Regions from separate parts of the Homo sapiens genome. Here region 2 is linked to region 1. Evidence: promoter capture Hi-C in human tissues and cell types (Jung and others, 2019). All regions are on one chromosome and are shown on one strand. Each heading gives the region's core, a stretch centred on a gene start or on the middle of the fragment in contact. The rest is flanking DNA. Distances are from core to core; before and after follow the strand shown. Region 1 holds the start of ZEB1 (zinc finger E-box binding homeobox 1). Region 2 has its middle 45 kb from the start of LINC02644.

Region 1 (3,256 bases), core at 434-2,933:
TTATTATACAAACAGGTACCGGGGCGGCGCAGGCGGGGGCTGCTCTCCCTGCGCTCCCGCCGCCCCCGGGCGGACAAGTCTCGCCCCTCTCGCCACAGGAACTGTCCAGACAATAACAATCAGCAGACATTTCGCTGCTGCACGAGAGGGAGAGAAAGCATAGCATCGCCCCGAGATAACCAGAAATACAATCAACTTACAACGTCTCTCCAAACTGGAAAAGGCGACTGTGCAACCACCACCACATGTTCAGGTCTCGATCCCTCGGGCTGTCTCTCTTTTTTTTTAACTCTCACGCCAGGCAGAGGGGTGTGTGTTTCCCTTGGCACAGCAGCACAAATCAATAAACACTGCAGCTGCGGTGCAAGTAGCAGCCCCGCGCGTCCGTCGGTCCGTCCGCCCCCTCCCCCACCCTCCTTCCACCCGAGACCCAGAGCGCCATCCAAGCCCCATTATCCGGCTTCAGCGCTCCGTGCGTCCGGCCCAGGTAACAACTTCCCCAAAAACCGAAAGAGAAAAGCGCGAGGCGCACGCACACCGGCCCATCCCGGCGCAGAGACCTCGTCTGCCCCGGGAGGGGGATCTGTCTGTGGTGCTTCCCGGTCTCTAAGCCCAGGTAACAACTCCGCAAACACACCCGCCGCCCAGCTCGCCCCCATCCGCGCGGCTCCCGGCGGCGTTAAGTGGGTACCTTTCCTGCCTTGTTCCCCGCGCCGCCCCGCCGCGCCCCGCCAAACGTGGACCCCACTCGCGGGGCTCGCCGCGGAGTCCCCAGGCCGGGGCTCTGGGCCGGGCAGCGGGAGGCGCCAGGGAGGAGGGGCGCTTAGGGACCCGCGCCCCCGCGCCTCTAATCCCCGTTACGCGAGCGCGCCCGGCCCGCGGGTCCCAACTTTACCGCCGCCGGCCGAACCCTGTCCGCCCGCGGCGCGCACAGCCGGCGCCCGCGCACACGCGCGCACAAACCCCACGCAACCCGCGGCCGCCCCGTCCCGCCGCCGCCGCAGCCCGCCTGCCGCGCGCCCACAGCCCGGCCCGAGTCGCGGGGCCCGAGCGACAGCGACGGCGCCGGCCGGGGCCGCGGCGCGCGGAAGCCACTTTGCACGGTCAGCGCCGGGCACAAGTTTGTTCCGCGGCTCCCGGGGGCCTGGGCGCTGAGGGAGAATCGCGCTGAGGGGGCCAGGAGGAGGGGGAGAGGGAGGCGCCGAAGGGCACAAGAGTGGGGAAAAGTGCGGAAAGAAGCAACAGCCGCTCCACCCGGGACCAGAAAAGTGGCCAGTGCGTCCCGGCCGCCCGCCCTGCGCCGGGGATGCGGCGGCGTCGGCGCCGGCTAACGGTCCAGGGAGGCGGCAGGGGCGGCGGGAGCCGCTAGGCGGAGAGAGACCAGGTAAGAGACATAACGGTTCAGGGAGAGCGAGCGGCCGCGGCGCGGCTCCGGCAGCGGCGGCAGCGGAGGGGGGCAGAGAGCACTACTTTCTACTTTCCCACTCCACTTTGCCGTCCCTGCCCCGGCTGCCCCCAGCCCGGCTCGCCCCCCTCACCCCCGGGGGCGCCCCGGCTGCCCAGCTCCCCCTGACTCCGCCGCTCCCCGGTCCCCTCCGCCACTCACCGTTATTGCGCCGCGGGTTCGCCTGCTTTCTGCGCTTACACCTGGGGCCATCCGCCATGATCCTCTCGCTTGTGTCTAAATGCTCGAGTCACCTCCTCCCCCTCCCTCCCCCTTCCCCCCCACCCCTCCGCCTCCACCCCTCCCCCCTCCCCACCGCACCTGGTTTACGACACTCCCGGCTTTACGACATCACCTTCCTTACACCTAGAGGCTCTCGCTCTACGGCCGGAACCTTGTTGCTAGGGACCGGGCGGTTTGCGGCAACCGTGGGCACTGCTGAATTTGAATTGAGGGGCGAGGGAAAAGTTTTCCTCAGGTGTGGTGGGGAGAGGGAGGCGGATGCCGGGAAACCGTAGGGACGCGGTCAGAAAGGCGACGGGCTGTCGGAGTTGGAAAGGTAAAGTTGGAGGCTCGGCGGCGTCCTGCCTCCGCGCTGGCCACACCCGCCGCGGCTGCCCGGGGCAGGGAGGGATCTGGCTGATTCTCCCTGTACCCTGTGCCCTCGGAGCTGCCCCTCCGAGCGCCCAGAGGTCCCCGCCTGCCTGCTTCCTGGAGGCAGGGCTACCATCAGTCCCACGCCTCGCGTGTCCGCCCCCCGCACCCCGGGGCCAAGGAAAGGGATCGCGGTCTGGACTCCCCGGGGAGTTCCCTTGATGAGGGGAAGGGCAGGTTTGGGGACGGCGAGGACACGCGGCGACCGGAGAGAGGCTACCTGACCCGCGCAGCCCGGACTCCCTTCCCTTCCCTTCCAGGGACGCCTGGTTTCCCCCCAAGCGAACCGGGATGGGAAGTGACTTCAATGAGATTGAACTTCAGCTGGATTGAAAGAGAGGCTAGAAGTTCCGCTTGCCAGCAGCCTCCTTAGTAGAGCGGAATGAGTAATACCCACACGGTGCTTGTCTCACTTCCCCATCCGCACCCGGCCCTCACCTGCTGTCACCTCGGCCTCCCACACCCGGTCCGCGCTCCCCGCCCTCTTCCTCGCGTAGAACCGTGGGATCCTAGGTGGCAGGACTCAGAGCTAAGGTATCCACAGGCCATGAATTCCTTCCTAAATGAGCGGTCATCGCCGTGCAGGACCTTAAGGCAAGAAGCATCGGCTGACAGATGTGATCTCTGAACCTGATAGATTGCTGATTTTATCTTATTTTATCCTTGACTTGGTACAAGTTTTGGGATTTCTGAAAAGACCATACAGATAACCACAAATATCAAGAAAGTCGTCTTCAGTATTAAGTAGAATTTAGATTTAGGTTTCCTTCCTGCTTCCCACCTCCTTCGAATAAGGAAACGTCTTTGGGACCAACTTTATGGAATAAATAAGCTGAGCTGTATTTCAAGTAATATAGTTATAAATTAACAATGTAGCAGTTATTGATAGAGAAATTGAGAAAACTGAAACGTGACCGGAGTATTGGAAATAACGTAGTACATCACCTAGCACAATGACACATAGTAGGTGCTCAATAAATTTATGCTTATAATTTTTGTCACTTCTATGGCAGGATTTTTTTATTAGGTTAAAATTATCTTTTAAACACCTTCCGGAATTTTAGAATATTCATTAATAATGTCTTCAAACCTTTCAACTGAAATAAATTTACAGCTGAAGTCTGATGATTTAAAGTTAGAAAGTTTAATCTTGAATAT
Region 2 (3,256 bases), core at 477-2,976, 550 kb after region 1:
TGGGATCCACTAGGGGAAGCCAGCTGGGCTCCTGAGTCGGGTGGGGACTTGGTGAACTTTTATGTCTAGCCGGAGGATTGTATATGCATCAATCAGCACTCTGTGTCTAGCTCAGGGTTCGTGGATGCACCAATCAGCACTCTGTATCTAGCTAATCTGGTGGGGACTTGGAGAACTTTTATGTCTAGCTAAAGGATTGTAAATGCACCAATCAGCACTCTGTGTCTAGCTCAAGGTTTGTAAACGCACCAATCAGCACCCTGTGTCTAGCTCAAGGTTTGTAAGCTCACCAATCAGTGCTCTGTGTCTAGCTAATCTAGTGGGGACTTGGAGAACTTTTACATCTAGCTAGAGGATTGTAAATACTCCAATCAGCATTCTGTGTCTAGCTCAGGGATTGTAAACGCACCAATCAGCACCCTGTCAAAATGGACCAATCAGCTCTCTGTAAAACGGACTAATCAGCTCTCCATAAAATGGACCAATCAGCTCTCTGTAAAATGGGCTAATCAGCAGGATGTGGGTGGGGTCAGATAAGGGAATAAAAGCAGGCTGCCCGAGCCAGCAGCGGCAACCTGCTCGGGTCCCCTTCCACACTGTGGAAGCTTTTTTCTTTTGCCCTCTACCATGACTCTTGCTTCTGCTCACTCTTTGGGTCCACACTGCCTTAAAGAACTGTAACGCTCACCGTGAAGGTCTGCAGCTTCACTCCTGAAGCCAGCGACACCACGAACTCAGCAGGAGGAATGAACAACTCTGGACGGGAGGAACGAACAACTCCAGACGATCCGCCTTAAGAGCTGTAACACTCACCGCGAAAGTCTGCAGCTTCACTCCTGAAGCCAGTGAGACCACGAACCCACCAGAAGGAAGAAACTCTGAACACATCGGAACATCAGAAAGAACAAACTCCGGACACACCATCTTTAAGAACTGTAACACTCACCGCGAGGGTCTGCAGCTTCATTCTTGAAGTCAGCAAGACCAAGAACCCACCAATTCCGGACACAATGGGGTTGCATTTGAGGCAACTTTATAGCCCAGTTTAAATGTAAATGAAAGCATTATAGGTTAATCCTTGAGGTCTATCAATAATATAGATCTTCAGTTCTAGAAAATCCAAGCTGGGCTCTGAGAGTCGTAAGTCAACAACATTGCATACAGAAGAAACAGAGAGAGAGAGAGAGAATCACCAAACCGAAGAATGACGGATGGACTTCACTGTGGTATGAAGGTAAAATATAAAACGAAATTAAAAAAAAAAGAGTGACCAAGCCCCAGGTCTGCGTGTGCCCAGCTCAGCTTTCCACTGGGGCTCCAGGGGGTGCCCCTCACTGGGGAAGGTGACTCAACCTAATAGACCCTGCTTTGATCGTTGAGGAACCGCATACATGGAAGTCCAGCAGCAGGGGTTTGAGAGCTGCAGGCAGGAAGCAGAGAGCTAGGGAGCAGGTAATGAGATGGGGTTCCTGCTATGGGCTGGGGTTTCCAGCCCCCCTGAGCTGTTCCCACGGGAGGCCCCATGTGAAGCACCACATGGAGGTTGCCCCGGGGCTGGGGACCTTTGTGTAACCCTGCCACGAAGTCCTCTTCTGTTCCATCACTCTGTACTCTCACCTTATGTTTTTCTTGTAGCTCTCTGGCTGCACCAATTTTTTTTTGAGACAGGGTCTTGCTGTCACCCAGGCTGGAGTGCAGTGACACAATCATAGCTCACTGCAGCCTCAAACTTCTGGGCTCAAGTGATCCTCGTGCCTCAGCCTCTCGAATAGCTAGGACCACAGCAGGCACGCCCCTCTCCCTGCTAATTGTGTGTGTGGTGTGTCTGTGTTTGTAGAGATGGGAGCCTTGCTATGTTGTCTATACTAGTCTGGAACTCCTGGCCTCAAGCGTTCCTTCTGCCTTGGTCTCTCAAAGTGCTGGGATTACAGGTGTGAGCCACCATGCCCAGTCCTGCACCCAATTTTATCTGCTCTTCTGTTCTTCTAAATTAATGCTAATCTCGGTGTCCAAGCCACTGTTTAGAAATGATGATTACACCAAGATTCCAAGTCACGGCCTATGTGAATTCCACTGTGGAGGAGGGTGATCACATGCAGGAGACAATCCCTGAATGCTGTTTTAGCCACTTTGGCCCAGAAATTCCCTGTTGCACACTCTCCATTTGCCAGAAATTTGGTTACTTGTTTAAACTCTTAAGTAACTGAACTAAATGGATTCTATTACATACAATCATAATTGCTTCAAATTAAACAATAAAAACGTTTTACTGTTTTTCTACACCCTAGGTATTATAAAGAAAGTGTAAAGCAAAGGGTGCCAGTTTAAGCGCCTGGAGCTAAGGTTCCTTTTGGGGAGAAAAGCTGGAGTTGTCAAATATGCAGATGCGAGTGGTGGTTGTTTTTCCCTATTGTGGAAGTGTGACAACCCAGGACTGTGGCCACAAAGGAAAGATGGAGGAGAACGAGGAGGCGGGAGAGCTGTTCCTGCTAGCAAGCGGTCGCGTTAAGAATTGGCCCACAAGTCTGGTCTTTATTTTGCCTTCATAATTTTTTCCTAAAATGAACAAATGCCCTGCTATAGAAATGCCAAGCATTTTCCAAATGACATTTCAGGTGGAGTCCATTGAACTGCATTTCTGAAAAAGTACTTAAAACCGAACTTCAGAAGCAGATGTCAGCATTTTGGACCCTCCTGACATGATTAAAGGTGCAGGTGGCAGCTGGCGCTGGGGAGGGGACAGGGCGGGAGCTGGCACAGGCCAGGAGGCAACACGGTTCATCATTCTCCCTAAAACAACCAGCACAGTTAAGGAAGTTGGGGAAAGAAGGGCCATAAACTTGAAAACACACATTTTTACTTAAAATTAGGTGTGAGCTCCCATTATAACAGGTAAACAAATGATCCCAGGCTGCCACTGCTGAAGAAACTCCCCTCCCTCTGCCAGCTCTGTGCTGATGCAGTGACCCTCTTGGGCTGCAGCAGATGAGCCCATGTCTCTCACTCTCCCTTGGGTTGGTCTCCCAAATCTGGATTATGTCCAGGGATCTCAAGCTCCGATCATTCTCTCTGGATCTCTGGGTCTCAGACAGAGTGTGCAGTGGAGCCCCAAAGCAGTCACATGTCACCTTGGGTTGGGGAAGACCAAGGGTCCCAGCCTCCTGGTGTCTCTGCTCACATTTTCACCCTGGCTGCCTCCATGGGCTGTCCTATCCCCTGACAGTGCTACCGGCAGGGTCCTGCCTGGAACAAGGGG

The links. The method cuts DNA at HindIII sites, captures the fragments that hold promoters and counts their contacts. A contact is called where the count stands out against the background at its distance.
Region 2: a fragment that was not itself captured here is called in contact with the fragment with the promoter of ZEB1 in region 1 in 3 of the 25 tissues and cell types used here (H1 embryonic stem cells, dorsolateral prefrontal cortex and lymphoblastoid cells).

The regions. Positions count from the first base shown.
Region 1 is chr10:31,317,643-31,320,898 of GRCh38, reverse strand. It overlaps ZEB1 (zinc finger E-box binding homeobox 1), which reads right to left and starts at 1,683. Exons shown (of 9, transcript NM_001174096.2): 1 at 1,607-1,683. The coding sequence starts at 1,664. It overlaps ZEB1-AS1 (ZEB1 antisense RNA 1), which reads left to right and starts at 1,804. Exons shown (of 3, transcript NR_148979.1): 1 at 1,804-2,003. RefSeq lists silencers at 1,109-1,198, 1,239-1,688, 2,429-2,488. The HindIII fragment of the contact is 10,097 bases long and covers 1-3,256 here.
Region 2 is chr10:30,766,119-30,769,374 of GRCh38, reverse strand. No RefSeq gene overlaps it. Among named protein-coding and RNA genes, the nearest start is that of LINC02644, 45 kb to the right of the region's middle. The HindIII fragment of the contact is 5,112 bases long and covers 1-3,256 here.